3 separate regions of the Homo sapiens genome follow, and all the other regions are linked to region 1. The links are contacts of gene promoters, found by promoter capture Hi-C in blood cells and fetal thymus (Javierre and others, 2016). All regions are on one chromosome and are shown on one strand. The core of a region is centred on a gene start or on the middle of the fragment in contact, and the rest is flanking DNA. Distances in the headings are between cores, read along the strand shown.

Region 1 (4,679 bases), core at 793-3,292:
CTCCACATTCAGAACATAGCAAGTTTCCAGTCACAACAGTCTTTGAATTATTTTGGCGCGATCTCGGCTCATGGCAACCTCTACCCCCTGGGTTCAAGGGATTCTCCTGCATCAGCCTCCCAAGTAGCTGGGATTACAGCTCACCTAATTTTTATATTTTTAGTAGAGATAAGGTTTCACCATGTTAAGAAACCATGTTGGCCAGGCTGGTCTCGAACTCCTGGCCTCAAGCAATCCACCCACCTCGGCCTCCCAAAGTGCTGGGATTACAGGTGTGAGCCACCGCGCCCAGTCCTCAATAGTCTGAGTTCTGACCTGGTCGTCCAGTGAGAGGAGACAAGAAAGAGCTGCTTGGCAAACAAGGGAATCAAGTGCCAATCAATAAACAAAGTAGTTATAAGGAAAGCCTCCAGGCCACTTCATTCAGATCAGAGCCACTTTAGCTGCTCAGGGACAAGCTGACAACTCTCCCTTCCATGAAGGGTACCATGAGGACAACCAAAAAGCAGGCTCAGGCTGTACATGGTTGGCCATGCCAGGCTCTACCAAATCTCTGCGGAGTCTAGTCTACAAAGCAGCTGAGCAGCAGGAGAGGTCCACGCCCAACTCATGAGTAAAGAGGGCACACACTCCAGGCCTGGGACAAAGGGCCGAGTGGTCTCAGGCAGCAGATGGATTTTCTGAAAGTAGGGGTTAGTTGAATCCACCCCTAGTGAGCACCAGTGCCTGCTTCCAGAAGCAGCCAGTCTGGGCCTCCCAGCAGGTGTAAGAACAAGATCTGAGGAAACACAATTCTCCACTGTACGCCCACACCATCATCACCGGCCACTTCAGAGATCCCTAAACCTGTCAGTAAACTAGTGCCTGCACACGTGCTATTTCCTCTTCCTAATAGGTGGCTTCTCCATAGGTGCCTTGGGTGCCTTTCCTGACACCCAAGCCCCTGTTCACATTACAAGACCTAGCCCAGTCTCCCCTCTCAGACCTGCACTCTGCACTCACCAGCCTCCACCCTTCCCACGCCCATCACAGTATCGAGACACTCCTTTCTTTCAATGACAACAGTATATTACAACCCTGTTAGCTGTGTCTTGGGGAATCTTTGGGGGCAAGACTAGTTCTGAGGTATCATTAAGAGCCAAAGCGAAATATGAATGAATGGGAACCAATTAGGGCTTGCAGATATTTGTAGCATAATTCAGTCAGGGTGGTGCGGTCTGTGATTTGCCTTCATCCCAGAAAGAACACGGAATTGAGACTGGACACCTTCCTCCTGGAAATCAGTTTCAGAACGGGAGGCCTGGAGTCTTTATTCCAGAGAGAAGGGCAAGTTATGGAGGGGGACCGGCAGCTCTTCAGCATCGCGCTTAAGCCTGGGCCCAGAATTCCATATACGGAGCCCAGACCAGGCCTCTGAACCATGGAGAAAGGGAAGAGGAGCTAGGCCAGTCCCAGGAACACTAGAGACCTCGGGGCCAGGAAACCAGAGGGCCCCAGCGGATTCAGAGAAGGCGCCTCACCTTCAACCGAGACGCTGAAGGACAAGGCAGAACAGCCTGAGGACAAGATAGGGAGGGGTCACACCCAGGGGTCTGCGCCCTTCGAGGGGCACAGTCAATCCCCGTCCACCCTTACCCGCCGGGAGGATCCAGAGCTAGTCCTAAGGGAGCTGTGGGCCCCAATGGCGGTTCAGACGCGCGCCGCCCTTTTGTCAGCTCGCCTGGGGCCCACCCCCGCAACCCCCGCTCACCGCCCGCGGGCCGGTCCAGCTTGAGGATGTCCCGCAGGTGCTGCGTGGCGTCCTCGATGTCGATGCTCGCGCAGGAGGCCATGGGCCCTGCGGCGGGCGCCCCGCCCGCACCGCGTTCGTTCCGCCGCCGCCGCGCACCACGCACCCTCGCTCACCCGCCACGGGGCGAGACAGCGGGACGCCGGTCACTACACAGTCCACCCGCAGTTCGCAAACCGCCACCCGCGCAGCGTCGCTGAGCCCCGCCAACCCCACCAACCGCCTCCACTTCCGGCACCCACGAGCCGAGGCTCCCGGAACCTGCCAGGGCCGGAGAAGAAAGGTTCCGGGCTGGGGGCGGAAGCCTAAACCCCTCCCGCAGCCAGTCCCCCTCGGCGGCCCCGCCCCTGTGTCCGCGAGGTCAGGAAAGTCCCACGGGGCTGAAGTAAGCGTCCACGCACTGGGCCACCTAAAGCCCTACTCGACTCAGAAGGCGCCAGGTCCCTGCCCACTCCCAGAGCATGGACTCCGATGGTCCTGGGACGGGGTCAACTTAGCCGCCCATGCTAAGGTCCCTCAGACCCCCAGAATATGCTGAATTGGCAGGTGCCTCAGGTTCCCTTTGGGAATGGGTCGGAATAACTCAAGGCCTGAGGCTACCCTCGAGGTCATAAAACTCAGGAATTGCAAGAGCAGGGGAGATGATCCCACTACAATGACCAGTCATTGTTCCCTACTGTCCCCCAGCATCCCCTTGTCCCACCTGGCACCCTCAGGTTGGAAGAAAGAAACCACAGTTTACAAATTCTTCTTTATTGCAGACAGTTCAGGCACAGGTACATGGAAGAAGCCGTATTGCAGATTTTACACAAGGTGGTTTGAGGCAGCAGGCACCTACCTCTTCCCCACCCCCACTTCCCCAAATACACATCAGCCTAGAGATCATTCCCACTGAAATCTCCTGAGCATGCTGTCCTCTCAAACAGCACACCATCCAGCCCTGTGCCCAATGTCACCAGGCAATCTGTGGGATCTGAGGAGGTCCTTAGCCTCCACCCGTAGTGGGACAGGGGAAGGGTATCCTTTTACATGTCAGATTTAGCTGTGGTGTCCTTACCAATCCTAAAACCCTTAACAGGGCACTGACCCAAATCTTGGGTTTGGTTCTAGCCTATGGTTGCTACATTGCCACTAGGTTTATACCATCCAGAAGTCTGTGGGACAAGGGGCTAGATTTGTACTGGGCAAGGCCTTTGTCCCCAAAATGGAGAAGCAGAAACTGCCCTAATAGCTAAGACTCCCCGGAATTGGAAGATAGCATGAAGTCTGTATGCTGAGGAAGGAAGTGGAGAGAGGCCTGGCAATGTCCTGCAGCAGTCTGAGGGGTGAGGACTCCTAAAGCATGAGTCCCTCACAGACTGCCTCCTTCCACAGCTCCTGACCTATACTCCAACACAACTGGGCCTGGCTCTGTGGGCAGTGGAGGCTGGCTCTTCGGGTTACCTGCCTTTGGGTAAAGATATCCAAAGCAGATGGGACAGGAGCTGAGCTGCCCTCTGCCTGGCTTGGTGTATGTGGGGCATCCTGGATATGATCCTGATCCTTCTGGGGATAGAGCAGGCCCCTCCCTTGATACTGCTGACAACTCAGCCCGGAGGGCCTGAACGTGATGAGCCATTTTGCCAAGGCCTCTCCAGCTTCAACAGGATTCAGGATCATCTCTCCTGCTACTAGGGCCCTGAACCTACCCAGAGCAGAAGTCACAGGAGGTATCAGAACTGACTGCACAGGCTTCAGTGAGAGAAGCTTCAGGCCAGACCTGAGCTCTTCCTGCCTGCTTTCCAAAGACCAGTCGCCCTGTGGAGTGGGAGAGAACTGCCCTACACGGCTTCTGAGAGGCTAGCTGGGAGTGCTGCTTCAGCAGTTTCTCCCTGCAACAGGTATTCAGAGTTGGGGCAGAAGTGGGAGGGTGAAACATGAGAGAGACAACGGGTCTGGGTAGCTTCTGATGCCCAGCCAACTAGTAAACTAATTAAAACAATTTAAACTGTTAAGAAAATTTTTGTGGTTTTATTGTATCATGAGGCATTGAAACATCTGAACAAATCAATGTCTGGGCGGTGAGGCAGCTGCTTTCTCCTTCACTTCTTTGGGTTACTAGAGCAACTTGTCAGTAGATTAAAAAAAAAAAAAAAAAAAAAAGGACAACCTTTTGCATTACTTAAGTCTTTCCAAGGCATGCGCTGGTACAACACAAACTTCTCCCGTCAGATGCAACTAGTCTAGCATCCAAACATCATGCACAACACCTCAGTGGCAGCAGCGCACTGCGCCCACTCCCACCGCGGCCCTGCTCATTTGTGCATGATATTTGGAGCATCTGGAGGAGTGGGAATAGTATTGGGAAGAGGAGGGAGGAGGAAACAGCGTGAGTGCCTAGCTGAGAGGAGGTCAGCCAAAGTTGTGCAGGGCGAGCCTGAACATGTCATTGGTGCAAACCCAAGCATCGTTGATGTTCTTTAATAGGAACATCTGGTGGAACCCCATGATGGGGTCTTCATCCGCCTATGAGGAGAGAAAAGAGGATTCAGTAAGGGGATCAAGAAACAGGAAGGGAATTCAGTGGTAGGAGAAGAGGGCAAAAAAATGTTGACTTTAGGATCAGGCCCTACTGTCCTGAACTCAAATCCCAGTGTAGCCAAGGGGTACTTGTGAATGTGAATTGATGTAATGTATGAAACAATGCCCTGGGCACATGTAGGCCAACAATCAGCCACGCCTATGTGTGCTATGTGTGCTTAAACTGCACAATAATTCACCCTTAGCTACAGCAAAAGAGCAGAGGATGTACCTGCCTCCAAGCACATATCTCCAGACACAAGTGATCACAATTTTGAAACGAATCCCATAGTATTTACCAAGTAACTTATAGAGTATCAAAAAAACTGCA
Region 2 (4,679 bases), core at 1,470-3,969, 370 kb before region 1:
TTCCAGGCCAAAAGAACAGCAGGTACAAAGACATGGCATGTCCCAAGAAGAATAAGCAGCTGGAGAGGTAGGGGAGGCCGAGGCACAGACAAGGAAAGGGGTGGGGGCCATGCCGAGGCTCTGAATAGGGGCTGGGACACAGAAATTTTGTGTAGGCAGGCGTAGTGGCTCATGCCTGTAATCCCAGCACTTTGGGAGTCCAAGGTGGGCAGAACACTTGAGCTCAGGAGTTCAAGACCAGCATGGCCAACATGGTGAAACACCATCTCCACTAAAAATACAAAAAATTAGCCAGGCATGGTGGCGGGCACCTGTAATCCCAGCTACTTGGGAGGCTGAGGCACAAGAATCGCTTGAACCTGGGAGACGGAGGTTGCAGTGAGCTGAGATGGCGCCAGCCTGAGTGACACAGCAAGACTCCATCCCAAAATAAAAGAAAAAAAAAATTGTGTGTAGGCATGAGAGGCCAGGACTGGAGAGTAGAGGAACAAGGGCAGCAGGAAGGGAAAGTTAGTTCTGCCTGGGAGTGCAGAGGTGGTGCCAACCAGACCAGACCAGACCAGACCGAGGACCTGGGGAAGGAGAGAGGTCAGTGACCTCGAGATGAGGATAGAAGGAACAGACTCTGGAGGCCTCTCAGGCACTGTTGGTGAGCAGCACCCCCCTCTGTGTGCCCCAGCCCCCACCTGATATTGTCAATCCAGCAGTCAATGATGACAGGCAGCAGCAGTTCCAGGTTCAGCCAGATTGTGAAGTAGCTTTCGGTCTTCTTGGAGCAGAGGTAGTGCACCACTGTCGGCTTGTCCAGCTTGGCTTCCAGTTGGTTACCCAAATCACCAGGGACTGCAGGGGGCACAGGACATGTGTGAGCCCTCAGCCCGGCAGGTTCAAGACTCCCAAGAACTTTGATGTCTGCAGCAGACCCCCTGAAGAGCCACAGATAATATGGCAGACCTGTGCAGTTCCACATCTCAAATTAAAGCACAGTGCTGGTGGCAGGAAATTCAGAGAGCAGGGACCTTGACCCAAAGGCCAGGGAACCATCTTTGTGCAGAAAAGCTGCTACTGCTGTGTGGTGCAGAGATGCCTGTGGGGGGCTTGGGAGAGGCCTGACATGTTTGGGGAAGGGCCCTAACATTGTCTCCAACTCCAGATAAAGTAAGTCTCCTGGATTTTCACTGGAACATCCTCCTGGGCCATTCAGATTATTGGAAGGGGGTTCAGGGTGAAGTCACTCCCCACACTAGGCCTCAGTTTCCGTATCTGTTAAATGAGATCTTGGTCTGAATCACCCCCAGCAAACACAGACACACCTCTACACATGGTTTCTATGGTTAATGGACCCCGATGGGAGCTCTGCCTGGGAGGAGGGGCTTGGAGACCCCTTTGCATTCCAGAACCTCCAAAGTTTGGCCAAGGCCCTTGTCATTAGATATATACCTTCGAGGCAGGGCGCAGGGGCTCATGCCTGTAATCCCAGCACTTTGGGAGGCCGAGGTGAGTGGATCACTTGCGGTCAGGAGTTCAAGACCAGCTTGGCCAATATGGTGAAAGCCCATCTCTACTAAAAATACAAAAAATTACCTTGGTGTGGTGGCACACACCTGTAATCCCAGCTACTCAGGAGCCTAAGACAGGAGAATTGCTTGAACCCGGGAGGCAGAGGTTGCAGTGAGCCAAAATCGTGCCATTGCCCTCCAGCCTGGGTGACAGAGCAAGACCCGGTCTCAAAAAAAAAAAAAGATATATACCCTGGAGGCTTGAACCCAAAAGTCTTCCACCCATAGCTATCCCAGGCTACATAGAAGACAGGGTCCTGTTCGCCCTGAGAGAGGAAGAAGGAAACAGAACAGAGCCCTGGGCCACTCAGCTAAAATTCAACCAGACAAAGTATGCAGGACAGGCTGGTGGGAGGGAAATGAACAGAAACACAGCTGAGAGAAGCTTACATTGGCACCCGCCAGCCTACCAAGGGCCCAGGCCTTACTAAAGGCCAGAGTCCAGTAAGGTGCCAGAGAGCAGATCATCTGGAGGGCCCTAGCATGGCTGGGAGCCCGTATTGGAAACAGCCACCCTGAACCAGCACCATTATCACCACAGTCCAGGCCCTAGGGTGACTTCTCTCCATCCCAGCCATCCTATTCAGTGTACTCAGAACTCTGGGGCCCTGGTGACACCCAAATCCCTCCCCACTGCGTCAAAGCCCTTCACAGTCTCGTTACTCCCATTGACCTTTCGGGCCTCACCTGCCCCCACATGCCATGCTCTCGCCACTTCCCAAACACATCCCCGTTTAGGGTCCATGATCATTGAGTGAAAAACCAGCACTTGGCTCTCCTGGACATTCACTGGGAACTGACCGTAAATCCACCCTGAACAGGGCGTGCCCTCCCTGGGCACCATCCCAGTGTCTTCAGGGTGCCATGAGAGGCAGGGGCGGCACATGCCTTCACCTCCCTTCATGGTATGGGTGCAGAGGGAGGGAGTCCCTGTCATGACAGCCTCTGGATGACATGCCTGTGGACTGGGCAGGGCAGGGCAGAGACCCTGGTCACTGTCTCTACCAAAGGGGAAATGGTAAAAGAGGAAGTCACCAGATCTGCTTTGCTCAGATGCTCCTTACCCTGGTCAGGCTGTGTGGCCCCTAAAAATAGCAGTGGCCACTTCCTGAGCCCATCTGCGCCTGGAACTAGGAAAAGAGCCATCCACATGCCTTTCACCTCAAGTAACACTGGGAGGGGACAGCCTTACTATTTCCACTTAACAGATGGGGAGACTGAGGCTGCAAGAGGTGGAAATGGCCTTGCCTATGGTCCCTTCCCCTTGCCCAGGGTCTTCTGTATCACATCGCTGGTCTCTCTTTCCTCCACCACCATTTCAGGATCCACCCCTAGAGGATTCTGATCTTCTGACAGTCAAGGTCAGATCCCTGCTCTGTGCCCAGGAGCTGCTTATCCAACTGCCCACCGTGAGGTCTCCCAGGGCTAAGGCCAGCAGCCTCACTCCCTGAGAAGCTGGGCATGTTAGGACTCCTGCTGCTCTGTGATTCTGGGTGGGGTCTGAGGCTCTTCTGCTGTGACCAAGGATAAACAGACTGACTGAATTGATGAGTGCGGTTAGCATCAATCCAGGCAAAATGGCTATGTGCCATTTTGTGTGCCACAGACCACATGCTTCCTAATGCCACGCCCCTCAGACTTAGAACTCTGCAGGCCAACCCAGGACTCCCTGAGGCCCTCAAGATAAAGTTCAGATGACCCAACCAGTCACAAGTCCTGTGCAGTCCACTCCTCCTGTGACTCGATCCCAGGCAGCCTGAGATGCTCACGTCTCTCCCCGACCCATTACTCTCTCCTGGCCTTAGCTCCAGCTATATACTCCAGGAAGCCTTACTTGACACCCACCCATCCAGGCTGGGTTGGTGGATTCTCTGTGCTTGCCCCACACAGACTTCCTCTCTGGGGATCACTGTTATTCCTATCCTGCAAGCTTTGGGGAGGCAGGGCCAAGTCTGCCCAAATCCCATGGTGAACCTGGGCCTAGTATCCCCCTGGAGCTTTTCCTGGCTGGGAACTCCTGGTGGGGCCTGCCTGGCACCACCCTACCTGCCAACTCTACCCTTCTGTGATTTGCATCGTCCCCATTTAAAGTACTCTCAGCAGAAAGAGCATGGAGATCATGCTGCACTAGACTCCACGTGTAATTCATGCCTCAGATGCCTCTGCTTTCAGGAATCCTGGCTGGCCACGGACACACCAGCTCTGGATGGGAGTGACGGCCTCAATGAGGCACCCAAGGCCCCCCAGACAGAGGTCTCATCCCTGCCCATCCCTGCAAGGAAATACAGTGGCCGTTGTAGAGTTGCCAGGGTTGTGATCAAGGAGCGGGGTGAGCAGGGGAGGTCACCGAGCCTCCACATAGTCTAGTCCAAGCATGTGTGGCAGGGTAAGAGTACAAGCATGTTGCCTGACACAGGTTCATGGCCATTGTCCCAACCCTTTCCCCTGACTTCAGTTGTCTTCAGTTTCCCTTAGGCCTTTTCCCTCAGGCAATGCCACACATCTGATAAGTTGTGGGAGTTGGTGGCCAGCTAGGACAGCAATCCTTTCCCTAAGGAGGTTCCTTTCAGCAATGCCTTCTGGCATATGTGGCATTGGAGGGGTCGAGGGTGACAGCCTCCTAACCAGGCCCAGGTCGATGCAGAAGTCAACTCAGGAGCCACTCTACACACCCCCACCATCCCTCAGGAGTGGGGCTGAAGCACCTGTCTTTCCAGCTTAAAAATGGGATAAGGGGAGGCAAGGCTTGGGAATGATGCGGACAGGTGGAACTATGAATAACCAGATGGTAACTCTCCCACTCACCCCCATTTTCTACCAGGACAGGAGGTGGGGAGCTGACCACACCCGCGCCCAGCATGGCGGGAGGTGAGCCGGCAGATCTAGATCACCTAAGTGACAAGACAGATACCAATACGCTCCCCCATTTCGTGACTGGAACAGAAGCAGACCGGGAAGGCAGCCCCGCCCGCGGCCCGTCCCGCCCGACCGACAGATCCACCACGAGACCCGTGCCTCACCCAGCACCACTGGGGGGTGACGTCCGGCCGGGAGCGCTGGGTCCGCGAGCAGCATTAGCAGCAGCAAGAGGAACAGGAGGCCATCCGGGAGCAGCCCCAC
Region 3 (4,679 bases), core at 1,025-3,524, 330 kb before region 1:
ATCAATTTTAAAATAGAATACATCTTTAAGACAGGTTTTGCTATCTTACACATGGCAGCACATTAGAAAGTTACAATGCTATTGTCTTTACGAAAGCGAGATTATATAAGTAATCAATTATAGCTATTTTAGAAGCCACTAAAAACACATGTGAGAAAATCTACATTTCAGACAAATCTGGATTCAAATGTCTGCCCCAATTATTTGTGGCCATATAACGCTGGGATGTGCTTAAGGTCTCTGAGCCACATCTATACAAAATTAAGACTAATAATTCACATTTCACACATGATTGCAAAGAATTAATGAGCCACTAGCAAAGTGCCTAGCACAGTGTTCAAAAAAAATATGAGTTTATCAAGAAACAGTAACCATAATTCATTACCATTTTTTGTATTTTTGAGACAGAGTATCACTCTGCTGCCCAGGCTGGAGTGCAGTGGCCTGATCTCAGCTCACTGCAACCTCTGTCTCCCAGGTTCAAGTGATTCTCCTGCCTCAGCCTCATGAGTAGCTGAAATTACAGGCGTTCACCACCATGCGTGGCTAATTTTCACTATTTTCTTTTTTTTTTGGAGATGGAGTCTTGCTCTGTCGCCCAGGCTGGAGTGCAGTGGCACCATCTCAGCTCACTGCAACCTCTGCCTCCCAGGTTCAAACGATTCTCCTGCCTTAGCCTCCCAAGTAGCTGAGATTACAGATGTGTGCCACCACACCCGGCTTATTTTTGTATTTTCAGTAGAGACGGGGTTTCACCATGTTGGCTAGCCTGGTGTCAAACTCCTGGCCTCCAGTGATCCGCCTGCCTCGACCTCCCAAAGTGCTGGGATTGCAATCATGAGCCACTGTGCCTGGCCCAATTTTTACTGTTTTTAGTAGAGACGAAGTTTCACCATGTTGGTTAAGCTGGTCTTGAACTCCTGATGTCAAATGATCCTCCCATCTCGGTCTTTCAAAGTGCTGGGATTACAGGCACGAGCCACCGCGCCCAGCCATTAACTATTTTTAAATACACATTTTGAGGGGAACTTAGTTTGAAGACTTCTGATATGCTGCTTTAGTGGTAGCCTCTCTTGGACTTTTCCTAGCTTATGTATAAATTATATTTTTAATTGCATTTTATTTATTTTGAGACAGGGTCTCACTCTGTCGCCCAAGTTGAAGTGCAGTGGCATGATCTCTGCTAATTTCAACCTCTGCCTTCCAGGCTCCAGCGATCCTCCCACCTCAGCCTCTCGAGTAGCTGGGACTATAGGCACACGCCACCACACCCGGCCTAATTCTGGTATTTTTTATAGAGACAGGGTTTCACCATGTTGCCCAAGCTGGTCTCAAACTCCCGAGCTCAAGCGATCCACCGGCTCTGGCCTCCCAAAGTGCTGGGATTACACACGAGCCACAGCACCTGGTCATGTATAAATCTTAATGTAGGTTGATTAAAATAAATTTTTTGTTCAGAAATAATACATTCATTTAAAAAAAGGTACAACTTATTTATGTCCATGGAAATACACAGACGCATTCGATATAAAAAATAAAAAATCTTCTCAAATGTTTGTTGTTCTTTCTTCATTAGGCCTAAAACTCAATTTTTCTTATTGTATGTCCCAGGGTGGTTGTGTCTAAGGTCTTGAATCCCCATCATGGTCCATCTCGCATAAGCCATGATTTAAAGCCTACATAGGCATTATTTACAAGACCTTTCAGCTTCTGGAATCATTCATCCTAAACACGTTTGAGGCTGTATAGTACATGTATGCTTCCCAAAAGAGGATTCGTGAGTTATCCAGTGTCCAAGTTAAAAGAGAAATTTCAGCATTATCTACCTCCCTCCACTCCAGTGCCCATAGTGATTATACCTCATAGATGACACATTCTCACCACTGGCTGTGTATGGCTTTTATTTAATTTTATTTATTTATTTTTTTTTATTATTTATTTATTTATTTTGAGATGGAGTTTTGCTCCTGTTGCCCAGGCTGGAGTGCAATGGCACGATCTCGGCTCACTGCAACCTCCGCCTCCTAGGTTCAAGCGATTCTCCTGCCTCAGCCTCCCGAGTAGCTGGGATTATAGGTGTCCACCACCACGCCCAGCTAATTTTTGTATTTTTAGTAGAGACGGGGTTTCACTATATTGGCCAGGCTGGTCTCAAACTCTTGACCTCAGGCGATCTACCTGCCTCGGCCTCCCAAAGTGCTGGGATTACAGGCGTCAGCCACCGCGCCTTGCCTTGTTTTATTTTAATAAAATAGACACCAGTGAAACCACTAACCAACAGGTGCAAGAGAACACTGACAATACTAACCTCTCTGTTCCTCCTCCATACCAGTCTCCTGCTTCCCACATCCAAGTAACCACCTGAATGTTGTGTTTATCATTCCCTTGATTTTAAAAAGCACCTGCTTTTTGAAAGCAGGCTCTTCTGCTTGTCTTTTACATACAGAACTGAAGCAGCTGAGGTCATGACTAGAGTCCCTGTTTACTACTGCTGAATTACCAAATGCCCTACATTCAGGATCAGCATGTTACTGCACAGAGCCTGCAAGTGGCAGTGTCAGTTTTCAGCACAGCATCAGGTCAGGCTATATTTAACATGCATCCTCTTCTCTGCTGAAGAGCTGCAGCTGTGGCTCTGTTAGTCTGTGAACAAGGAGGACAAGTGGGAACTGAGGGACTTTAATGGAAAGTTGTAACAGGATTCGGTTAACTCAATCATAAATTAAATGGGCCTGTATTTAAAGGTCTAAGATAGTCTAGTTTCACAATACTATAATCTTTTTTTTTTTTTTTTTTTTTTTTTTTGAGATGGAGTCTCACTCTGTTGCCCAGGCTGGAGTGCAGTGGTGCCATCTCAGCTCACTGCAACCTCCACCTCCCGGATTCAAGTGATTCTCCTATGCCAGCCTCCCAAGTAGCTGGGACTACAGGCATGCACCATCGTGCCCAGCTGATTTTTCTTTTTTTCCTTTTTGGTAGAGATGGGGTTTTGCCATGTTGGCCAGGCTGGACTCGAACTCCTGACCTCAGGTGATCCACCCACCTAAGCCTCCCAAAGTGCTGGGATTACAGGCATGAGCCACTGTGTCTGGCCGCTATAATCTTTCTTTTTTTTAAAAGAAACAAACAAAAAAACAGTATCAATTACCACACTGAATCAAATCTTAATTAAAATGTTTAAAACAGCTTGACAAACGGGCACAGTGGCTCACGCCTGTAATACCAGCACTTTGGGAGGCCAAGGAGGGCAGATCACTTGAGCCCAGGAGTTTGAGACCAGCCTGGGCAACATGGCGAAACTCCATCTCTACCAAAAACAAAAAACAATAAAAAAAACAAAAACAAACAAAAAACCCCCCAAAAATCAGCTAGGCACTGTGGTGTGTGCCTGTAGTCCCTGCTACTTGGGGGGCTAAAGTGGAAGGATCACCTGAGTCCCAGGAGGTCAAGGCTGCAGTAAGCCATGATCACGCCACTGCACTCCAGCCTGTGCAACAGAGTGAGACCCTGTCTCAAAATAAATTTTAAAAAGGCCAAGTGCAGTGGCTCATGCCTGTAATCCCAGCACTTTAGGAGGCTGAGGCAGGCAGATCGCTTGAGGTCAGGAGTTCAATACCAGCCTGGCCAACATGACTAAACCCTGTCTCTACTAAAAATACAAAAATTAGCTGGGCACGGCAGTGGGCACCTGTAATCCCAGCTACTCGGGAGGCTGAGGCATGAGAATCGTTTGAACCCAGTAGGCAGAGGTTGCAATGAGCTGATATTGTGCCACTGCACTCCAGCCTGGGTGACAAGGGAAACTCCATCTCAAAAAATAAACAAATGAAAAACAGCTTGACAGTTTCCATATCTGTTATAAAATCAACTGTTTTAATGTTTACTGTCTGGTCCAAAACCTGCGGCATAAAAACCATAACGAACATAAATGTTTACGGAAAATTACATTTCCAGGCATACGAATTGTAAATATGAGTAAAATTCAGTGATAATTGGACAGCCACAGAACATGCTTTTCAAGGAGGTGCAATGATATATGGAGGTAGTGAAGAAAATATAAAGACAAGAAGCAAAATAGTCATGAACTATGCCTTAATTGTTTGAGTAAGTTTATATTACAGCCTTCCAGGGGGACTACTTGAAAGAGAACTTGGTGAAACGTCAGTACTGTGCTGCTGTTGTAACCCCCAAAGGAATATCTGCCTTGCCCCAGGAAGCCTGAGACTGAGAAATGCTTCTGGGATTCTTCTGAGCTTGGAAAATTGGTATGAGGCACCGAAATCATCTCAATGAAACTGAACAAGGATAATTATAAAGTTTAGTCTTTGGTCCAAAAAAACCCCATATATATATATATATAAACCTATGTAGGGAAAGGACACAACTTTGCATAATTATGACTCACTAAATCAACAGTATATCACAGCTAAGAAAATCCCCTGACCTCAGGCCATACTGATAAAGTCTTTTCAACAGGGAAAGTGACAGTCTTAACCCACAACAAGCTAGCTACAATGTGTTCCCTTCTGGATACTCCACTATGAAAGGGAACTTAAACATCACGGTTCAAGCAGAAGGAAATTTGCATTTTGGTGAGGGAAGGATGAAGTTGCTGGAGAGTTTTTAAGACTGGGAAAGAGATCAAGCTTTCACACATGTGAAGGCTATTATACAAGAAG

The links. Contacts are between HindIII fragments. The CHiCAGO score rates a contact against its expected background, and 5 or more counts as called.
Region 2: a contact is called between a fragment that was not itself captured here and the fragment with the promoter of EDC4 in region 1, in 1 of 17 cell types (fetal thymus). The highest score is 5.1, in fetal thymus.
Region 3: a fragment that was not itself captured here is called in contact with the fragment with the promoter of EDC4 in region 1 in 1 of 17 cell types (total CD4 T cells); the score reaches 5.9 in total CD4 T cells.

What each region holds. Positions count from the first base shown.
Region 1 is chr16:67,870,415-67,875,093 of GRCh38, reverse strand. EDC4 (enhancer of mRNA decapping 4) reads right to left here and starts at 2,042. Exons shown (of 29, transcript NM_014329.5): 1 at 1,751-2,042. The coding sequence starts at 1,832. NUTF2 (nuclear transport factor 2) reads right to left here. Exons shown (of 5, transcript NM_005796.3): 5 at 2,527-4,294. The coding sequence ends at 4,181. RefSeq lists an enhancer at 1,326-1,826 and a silencer at 1,720-1,929. The HindIII fragment of the contact is 5,556 bases long and covers 1-3,537 here.
Region 2 is chr16:68,245,454-68,250,132 of GRCh38, reverse strand. It overlaps PLA2G15 (phospholipase A2 group XV), which reads right to left. Exons shown (of 6, transcript NM_012320.4): 1 at 4,580-4,679; 2 at 687-843. Among named protein-coding and RNA genes, the nearest start is that of PLA2G15, 2.4 kb to the right of the region's middle. RefSeq lists an enhancer at 3,794-4,294. The HindIII fragment of the contact is 1,545 bases long and covers 1,947-3,491 here.
Region 3 is chr16:68,200,084-68,204,762 of GRCh38, reverse strand. All of the region lies in intron 9 of NFATC3 (nuclear factor of activated T cells 3), which reads right to left. Among named protein-coding and RNA genes, the nearest start is that of MIR6773, 31 kb to the left of the region's middle. The HindIII fragment of the contact is 4,748 bases long and covers 1-4,648 here.